2 separate regions of the Homo sapiens genome follow, and region 1 is linked to region 2. The links are contacts of gene promoters, found by promoter capture Hi-C in blood cells and fetal thymus (Javierre and others, 2016). All regions are on one chromosome and are shown on one strand. Each heading gives the region's core, a stretch centred on a gene start or on the middle of the fragment in contact. The rest is flanking DNA. Distances are from core to core; before and after follow the strand shown. Region 1 overlaps UBE3B (ubiquitin protein ligase E3B). Region 2 holds the start of TRPV4 (transient receptor potential cation channel subfamily V member 4).

Region 1 (6,607 bases), core at 2,128-4,627, 300 kb after region 2:
AGCCCAGGCTGATGCCAAGGCCAGGGAGCCCAGGGAGGGGATCTGGCCAGTCCCTGGATGCTGGGCAGAGTGCAGGGCGCTGCCCTGGCACCACTACCCGAGGTCAAGCCCCAGACACAAGACGACTGGCTTCCAGAGAAGGAACCCCTTCTCCCTGGGGCCTGCACAGAGAATTCCTGCACTAAGTAAGCTTTTGGAAATGGGGCCTTCCGGTTCACAGCGAATTACTGGTTAACCAATTGACAAAAAGTAGAATGCTGTAAAAACTGTTAGGTGCCCAAACATTTCTGAATGCACTCCTCCCTCCTCACCGGTGCTGTGGCCGGTGGCAGACCATGACTTGGGCCAACTTTCCCTTAAGCATGGAGGCCGAGGACTGTGTAGCTTCCTGTACAAGGTGGCATCACGGGCTCAAACTGCATCATGAGAGGCAGCTACACCCAGAGGCGGCCACTGGGTTTTTATGGGGAGTAGGACTCTCATTTGAGCACCCACAGTGGGCCAGGCTTGAGACACACAGAGCTCCGTAACCCTGAAGGCTTTCCTTCTCCTTTGGCCAATGAGGAAATGAAGCAGCGAGCCTGGACGTGCACAGCCTGCTGGGGTAGGAGTAGCATTCGAGTCTGCGCCTGCCTGCCTCCTGAGCCCACTCTCTCACTTTCTCCCATGCTGCCTCAGATCTGGAGCCCTGGTGAGGCCAGACGCCACTAAAAACAGCACGTACCCACCCCCACTCCAGGTACCCTTCCCTGAGGAAGGAAAGAGAAAGGGGCTGCCGAGAGAGGGCTGAGTCCGTGGGCAGTCTCTCTGGGGCTGGCTGGTTCTCCTGCCGTGAGAACTGTGGGGCCCTCCTCACTTGGCTCTGAGGGGTCCAGCTGCCTGCCTTGCTGAGATATGGACTAGATAAGGGCCTTGCACAGTGGGCACAGCAGACAACCACCAAGAGGGAAGTCAAGGCTCTTCCCCACCCACCCCGTGGGGGTACCTGATCGTCCGACACCTCCACGCAGCGGATGGAGAATGGAGGCTTGAGGTAGGCGAATCCCAGGAGCGGGGGTCTGGAGCAGCTGGTCACGAACTGCAACACAAAGCAGGGTCAGTGGGGACGGGGCAGGCTCCTGCTCTTCCAGGACGGGCCCTTGCAGCTGTGTAGCACGTGTTTGCTCTGTCTGTTACCGTGTTGTAACTGCTGTCTAGCCAGCCGTATGGAGTGGCGGGGTGGATCTGGCCCCAAAACTGGCACACGCCGTACATCTCTCTCAAGGGTGCTGCTCTCGGGGACTAAGACACATGAAACCCATACCCAATAGGTGCGACTGGCCACTTGTGAGAGCACGTGTGACTGCAGAGTAGGAACAGCACAAATGCCCAGCCAGGGCACTGGTGAGGCGTCCCCGAGAGGCAGGTCTCCTGTGGGATTGTTAAGAGGAACAGAGCAGCAGCTGACACCCTCCCACAGAGAGACCATGTGAGGAGAAAATGGGAGACGGTGAGGGCGAGGCGGAGGCTGGTGGCACCCACTGCACGTGGTGCGAACAGAGGGAGCCCGGGAGACCCGCACTCACTGGCCTTGCACTTGGCATCCTGCCGGCTCCTTATTCATGCAGAGGGGACTGCACAGGTGCAGTCACCTGAGCCCTGGGCCTGCTGATTTAGAGTGGTCTATGTGCTGGGGCCCCGGGGGACCCTGTGCAAGAGACTAATAACCTCTCAGCACACTGACAAAAATGAGGCCCCAGAGCCAGTGAGGCTGCAGAGCAGGCTGAGGTGCCGGCAGCCCAAGTGGGGCCTGTGGGCAGCCAGCCACACTTCCCTGCTACCCCCTGGGAACTCCCGGCGTTCTCCAAGCGGCAGCCCCTGCGTTATTCCTGCAAATGTGCTAGCTCGTGCCTGGAGAGAGGCATCTGACCAGCCTGGAAATCTAAGTGATAAACTTGCACAGGAGTGTCCCAAGAAACCATTCACTTTAACTCAACAGTAGCCAAGAATGTTCTCCCTTCTCTAGGGGATACAGGGGCTTGTCACTTACATCATCAAGCTGTCCTCCAAAACTCAGGGGCAATTTGAGGGTTTGGGTCTGTTATAAATGGTTCTGAGATTCCTGAGACCATCCAAAGACAGTTTATGTGTGTCGGGCATCAAAAAAAGTTTTAAAAAGAGTATTAACAAGATCTATTCCTATTCTAACATGTTTTATTTATAAAAACCATAGCAGCATCAATGCAGGAAGCATTTTTGTGTTTCCACACTGTGACGAGCATTCCCTGAATGCAACCTCATCCAATCACTCTACGGATGCTGTGTGTCGGGGCTGTGGTTAGTCCTGTTTTAAGAATAAGGGGACAGACACAGAAGTATCTGTGCATCCCAATTTAGGCCGGCTCAGGTCTGCCCGCTGCAAATTCAGGTGGGTGAAAGGAGGGAGGGAAGCTTTCCCGCTCCTGCGAGCGGGGAGGGGCGGAGGACACAGGAAACCCCTGGATGCTCTGCTTGCTTTACATTTAAGAGAAGCATGGTCGTGGTCACATCCACTCCTGGGCAAGGGTTACATTTCTTCTGCTTGGCTCTGGGGCCTGTATGCAGCTGCACAAAAGGGCAGGCACATGGTAAGGAACTGTAGGTTTGGTGACAGGTTATCCAAAGGCACAAACACACCTGTTTTGTGGGGCAGCACCTGCACAATGATGAGACACTGGTTTTCCTCTGTAGGAGGGGCCAGCGTGAGCCGTTTTATAGCTTGGCAGAAACTGCTTTGCCCATGAGGCACTTCTGGGAAAACTGAACTGATTCTCCCAGAATCAACTTCTGGAATTCTGTCTGCCTGCCCATCCTAAATCCCCGGAGACCTGTGGGGATGTGGGGCATTTGTGTTATCTGCTGGACTGCGTGAGGGCCTCTTCAACAGGAATAAACTCTCCTCAGAATGACCACCCAGGAGAGAGGAAACCAGCTGTCATTTTAATTGCCAGTGACACTGTCCAGGTTGCCTCAACAGATGAGGCCACATGAGATTGTTCAAGCCCAAACCTCCAAAAGAAAACATTTCAAGGCACTAAATTTACCACCAGAACATGGCAAAATGTTCATTGATATTCTGTCAAGTAGGAAGGCTGGTGGGAAATGATAGGATCCCATTTTTAGAGAAATATACACATATATAACACATACACAGAGAAGCGTGTGTGCCATTCAGCGTCCTAGGAAATACTTACACACTGCTGATGTCAGTAACAAAAAACAATGCAATGGCATTAGGGGAATATTTTGAACATTTACAACTTTTACAGACACCATAACTGGGGAACCAGTTAACGTCAGCCACTTTATTTGCAAAAATACATCTTGATATCAGCCTAAGCAATTGTGTGTGTTTTATTGGGACACTGTGGGTGTGTATGTGTGTCTTACGCTATTGAGAAAATGGGTATAGAGAGACAGTCCCTGGTGAGTAGGAGTGTAGAGAGTTGACAATTCCATACTGGAGGAACAGCAATTGTTTAATATTTTGCTTATCTGTATTTTCCTAAGGTAAGGTTCCAAGCAGAGGGTCATTTACTTCTATAATGAAAGGAAATAAAGAAAAAAGATGTTATCAAGGCCAGCATAGGCAAAGGGGAGGACGGAGTGCCGAGCACAACAGGTATGCCCACCTGTGCAGGGGGCCTGTCCCTGCAGCCAGGGACACACAGCAGGCTCGGCCGTGCCCCTCAAGCCCCTCTCTGGTTACTGCTTGGCCTACCGGGAGGCCTGCCTGTGGGAGAGGATGTGCTGACTATCTGAGGTCCTCCTGATAATTTCAGTTTCTTCAGCGTAAATTATTACATCAACTGGCCTTCCAGGTTTATGAGAATACATGCATGCATGCATAGGTAATAAATAAAATACCTTCAGAAACATAGCTCTCTCATCCGGTGTGAAGTCGGAGGCCAGAATATCCCAGAGCCAGATGATGACTCTGTGACTTCCATGGAAACCACCGTAGTAGACTGTGTGCTTCCTGAAAGCAATACAGACCTGGGCTCAGCAATGTGCTAGCGTGGGCACTTATGGACAGGCAGGCAGGTCATGCAGACAGCTGGCACGGTCCACTCTGGCAGGCCTGGGGAACACTACTAATTTCTCTTAAAGCCAGAAGTTCATGCCTCAATAACTCTATCTCCCTGGGAAGCTAAAAGGGTGGGGAATTTGAGAGCTGGCCCTGCTGTTCCCAAGCAGAGGCCAGCCCCAGATCCTCTGACCCCATCTCCTAGAGCTTCAGAGAACCCCCAGTCCTCAGGCCTGCTTCCACTTCTTAATCTCTAGGCAGACAAGTGGTCAAGCTTTTAATCCAAAGCAGTCTAGCCAGTCCAGGGAGGAGAAGGAGATCTGGAGACAGGCTCCTAAAACAACTCTCTAAAAGGAACCCAGCGAGGGAGCAGCTGGCTTTCTGGGAGGCCAAGGAATTTCACCCTTCCCCCCACCCGCCTCTTACTTTAAATCTTCCAGATCAATCTCAGCATTGTCGCCAGAGATGAGACGCTGCAGTTCAGGAGTTGAGAACATTCGGATCCACTCGGGTTTGATAATGGAACGGAATCCGCTAATGAGGGCAGCTGTTTGGTTTTTTATTTGAGTGTGCATTCGAAAATGTGCCATCAGATGGATGTAGCTAATTCTGTTGCCAACAAGGAAGAGATAACAATGACAATTAACAGGACGGGGCAGGCTGTCACCAATGGGCTGAAAGACAGTCTAGTCATTTCTGAACCATTTTACAAAAAACACAAATAGTACCAGAGTGTTTCATCAGAACAATGACAATGGCGACAATGACGACAGCACTCACGAACTGCACACCATACGCCACTGTGTGCACATCAAGCCTTTGAGGGCACTGCATCATTCACTCCTCCCCAAAACCCATAGGTCACACCTCGGGGTAAGCCCCCACTATGTCGGGAATCACAAGGAGACATTCCCCACGTAAGAAGAGGGCCCTTCTTAGTACAAAGGGTGCTTTTTGGACTTTCATTTAATCTCATTCTTCTGGACATAAATCAATTAAGATACCATTCAGTCCTCTAATAAGTTTTAAAATAGAAAAAAATTGTTTCATGTCAAAACTTTAATCAAAACCTTGCTAATCTGGATCAACAGTCTAATGCTATGGCAAGGCGGACCTGCAGATGCTTTAAACACGCAGCTGGGCTAGGAGTGGACTCAACTGGGAAGTCAGAGCAACTTACAATGGTTCCAAGCAGAGGGTCTCTGGGTCTGCTGTGATGAACACAGTGCCCTCAACTACAACTGCATAAAGCATATAATCCTCTCAACAGGTTACATACATTCCAACAGGCTTGCTAGCATCGCTAATTTCTTTTTTCTTTTTATTTATTTATGTTTTGAGACAGAGTCTCACTCCGTCACCCAGGCTGGAGTGCAGTGGTGCGATCTCAGCTCACTGCGACCTCTGACTCCCGGGTTCAAGCGATTCTCCTGCCTCAGCCTCCCAAGTAGCTGGGACTACAGGCATGCACCACCACACCCAGTTAATTTTTTTGTATTTCTAGTAGAGATGGGGTTCACCATGTTGGACCAGTCTGGTCTCAAACTCCTGACCTCGGGTGATCTGCCCGTCTCGGCCTCCCAAAGTGCTGGGATTACAGATGTGAGCCACCACGCCTGGCCTTTTCTTTTTCTTTTCTTTTTTTTTTTGAGATGGAGTTTCATTCTTGTCGCCCATGCTGGAGTGCAATGGCGCGATTCGGCTCACTGCAACCTCTGCCTCCTGGGTTCAAGTGATTTTCCTGCCTCAGTCTCCTGAGCTGACATTACAGCGCCTGCCACCATGTCCAGCTAATTTTTGTATTTTTAGTAGAGACGGAGTTTCACCATGTTGACTAGGCTGGTCTTCAACTCCTGATCTCAGGTGATCCACCTGCCTTGGCCTCCCAAAGTGCTGGGATTACAGGTGTGAGCCAACGCACCCAGCCTTGCATCACTGATTTCTTAGCAAAGAACTTGAGCCCGGCCCACGTATGACTCTCACCAATTCCAAATCAGTAGAGTCCAAATAAATGTTTTACAATGCTAAAGCTTTAGTAATCTCAAAAATATCCCTATTTAAAAAAATTTTCCAGCAGCAAACCTGTATATTAATACATACAAATACGATTTTCCTATCATTGCTCCTCCTTCCAGGTATACTTTGAAGCAGGTGACGAGTACTGCTCCACTTTACTGAGAAAGGGGGAGAGGAAGGGAGGAGGTGAGAGGGAGGGAAGGAGAGAGGGAGATACGAGAGAAGAGAGTATGGGAAACATCCAACACTCATAAAGTGCAAGATCAAGTATCACCCCTAAAGAGGGAGAAACTGGCACTGCTAGGCCTTTTGAGTTAGTATGCAGAACTGAGTATCCTTACCCTGACCTGAGGCTTTATGCTATAAATGCTAAGAATCTGTGAAACAAGTTTCCACATAGGAGGTTTCCCAGCAGGACAGGACTCTCCCTCCAGCACAGCCTGCTCCCACCTACCTCCTCTGGGCGCTCTACTTAGCAGCCAGTGCCTATGTGGGGAGAGTGAGTGACTACCTACTGTCACCCCCAAGCTGCAACACCTGGCAATG
Region 2 (6,063 bases), core at 3,564-6,063:
TTATGAATAATGCTGCTATGAACATTCAAGTTTTTCTATGGACGTAAGTTCTCATTTCTCTTGGCTATATTTCTGGGGTGGAATTGCTGGGTCATATGGGAACTCCAGATTTTTTTTTTTTTTTTGAGACAGGATCTCACTCTGTTGCCCAGGCTGGAGTGCAGTGGCACAATCTCAGCTCACTGCAGCCTCTGCCTCCTGGGCTTAAGCAATTCTTGTGCCTCAACCTCCTGAGTAGTTGGGATTGCAGGTGCCCACCATCATGCCCGGCTAATTTTTGTATTTTTTTTTTTAATTAGAGATGAGGTTTCACCGTGTTGGCCAGGCTGGTCTCAAACTCCTGGCCTCAAGTGATCCTTCCGCCTTGACCTCCCAAAGTGTTGGGATTACAGGCGGGAGCCACCGTGCCTGGCAGTAACTCTAGATTTAATATTTGGAGGAACTGCCAGACCGTTTTCCATAGCAGCCACTCCATTACACATTCCCACCAGCAGTGTGCGAAGATTCCAGCTTCTCCACTTCCTCATCCACACTTATGGTCTGTCTTTTTGAGATCATATTCTTTTTTTCTTTTTTTCCTAGACAGGGTCTCACTTTGTTGCTCAGGCTGGAGTGTAGCTGCCTGAACACAGCTCACTGCAGCCTTGACCTCCAGGGCTCAAGTGATTCTCCTGCCTTAGCCTCCCCAAATGCTATGATTACAGGTGTGTGCCGCCGCACCTGGCCAGGAAAATATTCCTGCTGGTCATGCTACACTGTAGAGTCTGCTGGGCTTGGGTTCAAATCTTACCAGTTGTGGGATGATCTCAGACAAGTGGCCTCTTTGTGTCATTATCTATAAAATGGTGGAAGAATTCCTCCTTTCCAGGCTGTCAAAAGATGAACTGAGTTAGTGGCAGGATCAGGACTGTGCCAACTGTAAAGTGAGGTGCACGTGTCTTGTTTTTATAACTGGGTACCCTGGGTATAAAGTCCCTGAGATCCTGACCTGTCTGGCTCACCAATCTCTCCCCAGCATCTGGCACTGGACCTGGCATACAGTAAGCACTTGGTAAATGCAGACCCTTGGCTGCTGCCCAGGAACCTTTCTTAGGGGAGGTAGCTGAGTCCACCTGGGGCAGTCCAGGAGCTACGTGGAGAGCAAGGCTGCGCCCCACATGTGGCTGCCACATGACTCACAGCCAATGCTGAGGGCCTTGAAAGTTTTTCCTTCCCTAAGAGGAAACATTATTTCTGGCTAGGCACAGTGGCTCATGCCTGTAATCCCAATGTTTTGAGAGGCCAGGTTATGAGGATCACTTGAGCACGGGAGTTTGAGACCAGCTTGGGCAGCATAGCGAGACCTCACCTGTACAAAAAATAAAATTTAAAAAGCCAGGCTTGGTGACACACACCTATAGTCCCAGCTATTCAGGAGGCTGAGGCAGGAGGATCGCTTGAACCTAGGAATTTGAGGCTGCAGTGAGCTATGAGCAGGCAACTGCACTACAGCCTGGGCTACAGAGCAATACCCTGTCTCTCTCTAAAAATAAAAAAAAAAAGATTAAAAATTAAACTTAAAAAGTATATTCATATTGTTGTGTGACCCTCGTTCATCTCCAGAACTCTTTGCATCTTGCAAAACTGAAACCCTACGCCCAACAAACAGCAACCTCCCATTCTCCTCTCCCCCAGCTCCATCAACCAGGACTTTTTTTTTTTTTGAGATGGAGTCGCTCTCTGTTGCCCAGGCTGGAGTGCAGTGGCACGATCTCTGCTCACTGCAACCTCCCTCTCCCAGGTTCAAGCAATTCTGTCTCAGCCTCCCAGGTAGCTGGGATTACAGGTGCCCACCACCATGCCCAACTAATTTTTGTATTTTTAGTGGAGACGGGGTTTCATCATGTTGGCCAGGCTGGTCTCGAACTCCTGACCTCAGTTGATCTGCCCACTTCAGCCTCCCAAAGTGCTGGGATTACAGGCATGAGCCACTTCGCCTGACCCATCAACCAGTATTTTTAAAGCACCTACTAAGTGCCAGGTGCTAGACCTGTGGTCATGAACACGTTCCCTTGCTTCATGGACACTGGTACCCATTTTTTAGGTGAGGAAACTGAGGCACAGAGAGAGAGGGAGGCTCTTGCCCACAGCTCCCACCACAGCTCCTTCTCCCATCAGCGGCAGGGCAGGATTTGAACCCCAGTGTCTGGTGCAGAGGCCAAGCTCCAGCTGCTTAGCCCAAGATGAGTCACTTCCCTACATGGGGGCCTCAGTTGCCCCATCTGTGAAATGGGGATCAGGAAAGAGCTGGGTTAGTGATGATGATGCTGAGCGCTCAGGCCCCTTCCCTCTGAGCTTAGAGAAGAGGAGGTCGCCATCCCTGGCCCCATCTCCCCCAGTTCCAGTCCCCAACATCAGCTGCCTTATGGCTGGAATCACCCTTGCCATTTTCTTTAAATTGAGACAGGCCTTTCTGCAGAAATGGGTCCCAGACTCACTCCTCCACTCTCAACCTGGCCCAGCCCCAGCCCCAGCCCTGAGGGCCCCCAGCAGATAGCTGTCTGTCAGGGAGGTGTGAGGGGCCCTGTGTTTACCTTCCTCTCCACTGCCAGACATCTGCCTGTTTACTCCGGACCCTCAGAGGGTTCTCTTTCCCACCCCAACCCCCACCATGGAGGGAGCAGCTTTTGGAGAGGCCATACTCCTCTCCAAGCCTCAGTTTCCCACTTGCAAAATGGGTAGAGCAAACCCTACCTCACAGCCTGTTCTCCCTCTCATCCCCTAGGCTTCTGTGCTCAGTGAGTTAATTATTAGGGTTTGTTTCTTTGTAAATGTTTCACGCTGGAGGTGAACACATCACTCCTATTCAGGGGTACACACACACACACACTCTCTCTCTCTCTCTTTCGCCTCCCCACCCAGCAATTCTAAAATTTCACTTTCCAGCTGTTGGACCTCAGGAGAGATGCTGCTATTTTCAAGCTGAGGAGGAAGGAGCTACCCCACAGTCCCTGAGTCAGCTCAATTTAGTGAAAACACTAATGATGAAAATGGCATGGCTCTGGGCCGGGCACGGCGGCTCACACCTGTAATCCCAGCACTTTGGGAGGCCAAAGTGGGTGGATCAACTGAGGTCAGGGGTTCAAGACCAGCCTGGCCAACATGGTGAAACCCTGTCTCTACTAAAAATACAAAAAATTAGCCTGGCGTGGTGGCGCATGCCTGTAATCCCAGCCCCCAGGAGGCTGAGGCAGGAGAATCGCTTGAACTCAGGAGGCAGAGGTTGCAGTGAGCTGAGATCACACCCCTGAACTCCAGCCTGGGCGACAGAGTAAGACTCTGTCTCAAAAAAAAAAAAAAAAGGGCTCTGCACAGCCTGGATGCTCCCAGCATCTTCACTGCGACTGTGAGGTGAGGACTTTTGTATGCCCCACTCTACAGGGGGATGTAGAGGCACTGAGGCACAAAGGTGAAGGGACTTGCATAGGGCTGCTGGGTTAGAGAGTCACAGAGCCAAGCTGTGGGCCTGCTAGGCTTTCCAACCACCCTGGAGGAAGTGAGCTGCCCATCCTGTGGAGGTATTCAAGTGGACTCAGTGCTGGGTAGAGGGTATGGCTATGTGTTGGGGCCCACCTTTGTTATCTGATAAAAGAAAATACATGGGTAGGTGTGGTGGCTCATGCCTATACTCTCAGTGCTTTGGGAGACTGAAGTGGGAGGATCACTTGAGGCCAGGAGTTGTAGACCGGCTGCCCTCCCCCACCCCCCCTTCTACAAAAAAATAAAAATTAGTGGGGTGTGGTGGCGCATGCCTGTACTCCCAGCTGCTCAGGAGGCTGAGGTGGGAGGATCTCTTGAGGCCAGGAGTTTGAGGCTGTAGTGAGCCGTGATCATGCCACTGCACTTCAACCTGGGTGACAAAGGGAGAACATGTATCAAAAATAATAATAATAATAAAAAAAATAAACAAAAACGCATTGAGCCAGGCACGGTGACTCAGACCTCTAATCCCAGCACTTTGGGAGGCCGAGGTGGGTAGATCGCTTGAGCCTGGAGTTTGAGACCAGCCTAGGCAACATAGTGAGACCCTATCTCTGCAAAAAATTTAAATAAAATTAGCCAAGCATGGTGGTAGGCGTCTGTGGTCTCAGTTACTAGGGAGGCTGATACGGGAGGATTGCTTGAACGCTGGTGGTTGAGGCTGCAGTGATTCCTGATCACGCCACCGCACTCCAGCCTGGGCAACAGAGTGAGACCCTGTCTCAAAAACAACAGCAACAAAACATTGATGGCCTACTCCGAGGCAGGCTTCGCAGTAAGCACTGGGTGAAGACCAAGGAGAGCAGCTCACATTTATTTACCCCTGAACCATCTCTATGGGCCATACCCGAGGGTAGGGACCTCCTTCAACGCCTCGGAGGAAATTGTCTGCTGAATGAATGAATGAGCAAACACGTGGAGGACTGGGCCGGGACGCCCATTTAGAGACTAGGACACAGTCCCAGGGCGGCCCGAAGTCACGGAGCAAGATCGAATCGGAGCCGATTCCAACTAGAGCCCTCTCCAAAGACCGTCTGCCGCTCTATCCGGGGATCGCGACACCCATTTTCCAGGCGAGGAAACTGAGGCCCTGGCCCTGCACCTCCCCCGCAGGGGAGGCCCTCGCTGGGCGGGCGGGGTGCGAGTAGGGGCCGCCCCTTCTAGGGCCTGCGCTCGGCGGGGTCCGCGAGCCGGCGGGTGGGCGGGGAGCTGGCCGGGGGCGGCGCGCGGCTGGAACCTGAGCCGGCGGAGGAGGGACCCGCGGGCGGACGGGCGCCGGGCGGGCCGGCCGGGATTCAGGAAGCGCGGATCTCCCGGCCGCCGGCGCCCAGCCGTCCCGGAGGTAAGTGGGGCCCGGGCCCGGGAGGGGCGGCTCAGCCGAGGTCCCCTCGCGCCCCTGGGGACATCTCCGTGGCCCGTCCGGCTCCGGGGGGTCCCGAGGCTCCAAAATGCGGGCCAGGGGCGCGGGAGACGGAAGGCACCAGGTTCCGCAGGCGCCAGCCTCTCAGCTAAGTGCCCTTGGGCCGGACACCGGCTCTTTGGGTCTCGGTTTTATCACCTGTGAAATGGGCACCAACGTGGGGCCTGGGGTAGCAGGTCTGGGGGGAGGGCGGTTCGGTTCCCTGAGACCCCAAGCCAGGGAACCAAAGGCCCGGAGCCTTGCAGCCCACCTTAGGAGACTTGGAAGAGGGATTTCGGGGGACCTAAGGTTTGCCCTTGGCCCCTGAGCATGTCGGAGGGAATTTGGAGTCTGGAGCTTCCAAAGGCTTCTTCTTGGTTACTGAGTCCCGGAGAGACGGCTGTTTCCTCCAAGAGGCATGAAAATCTTTAACCTCTAGTTCTGCCCTGGACTCTCAGGACGTCCCGGGGGCGGGTGGCTCCTGGGGGTGGGTAGCGGGGGTGGGGGTGGGGGAGAGAGAGACTCCCACACTCCCCGCTTGCCTGGAAACACCAACCACAGATGCATTCATCGAGCCACCCACTGCTCCAGCCTGCCCCAGCTGTTCCCTCTGTCTGTCCTCTCTGTTTTGCAGATGGGGAAACTGAGGCTTAGGTCGGGGATCTAGACAATTGGGATTTAAACCCAGGGACTATCCAGCCCCAAAGCCCTTCCCACCACACCAGGTGGCCTGTCCTGGGGCCAGCTCTGCACACAGGGCCTGGTGCCCCCGGGGTGCTTGGGAAGTGGCAGGGCAGAGGTGGGCCCTGTGGCTGTTCTGGCTCAGCTTCTAAAACAAGAGCCTCTGCTGGGGGCAGAGGGGCCGTGAACCCCTGAAATGTTAGGCAGATACCCTGTGGGAGCTTTGTTCTGGGATGCTAAGAACCGCTTGAGGATTTAAGCTTTGCCACTTTGGCTCCGGAGCAAGGGCAGAGGGTAAGTCGGGACTCCCCGGGCTCCTGAGGAGGGTGACGAGGTGGGCTTTTGGGGGAACAAGGGTAGAAAGGTCAGGCCTGGGTTATCTGCGGGGCTAAGAGCGGGCCTGTGTGGGGCCCGGGGTGTGCTCTGCAGTCCCCTGCTGTGTGACCTTGGCCTGGTCCCTTAGC

What was found. Contacts are between HindIII fragments. The CHiCAGO score rates a contact against its expected background, and 5 or more counts as called.
Region 1: a fragment that was not itself captured here is called in contact with the fragment with the promoter of TRPV4 in region 2 in 1 of 17 cell types (endothelial precursors); the score reaches 5.2 in endothelial precursors.

What each region holds. Positions count from the first base shown.
Region 1 is chr12:109,527,937-109,534,543 of GRCh38, reverse strand. It overlaps UBE3B (ubiquitin protein ligase E3B), which reads right to left. Exons shown (of 28, transcript NM_130466.4): 25 at 4,472-4,654; 26 at 3,886-3,997; 27 at 986-1,078. Among named protein-coding and RNA genes, the nearest start is that of MMAB, 42 kb to the left of the region's middle. The HindIII fragment of the contact is 1,889 bases long and covers 2,433-4,321 here.
Region 2 is chr12:109,832,148-109,838,210 of GRCh38, reverse strand. TRPV4 (transient receptor potential cation channel subfamily V member 4) reads left to right here and starts at 4,813. Exons shown (of 16, transcript NM_021625.5): 1 at 4,813-4,861. It overlaps MIR4497 (microRNA 4497), which reads right to left and starts at 4,863; the gene lies at 4,775-4,863. The HindIII fragment of the contact is 8,362 bases long and covers 1-5,861 here.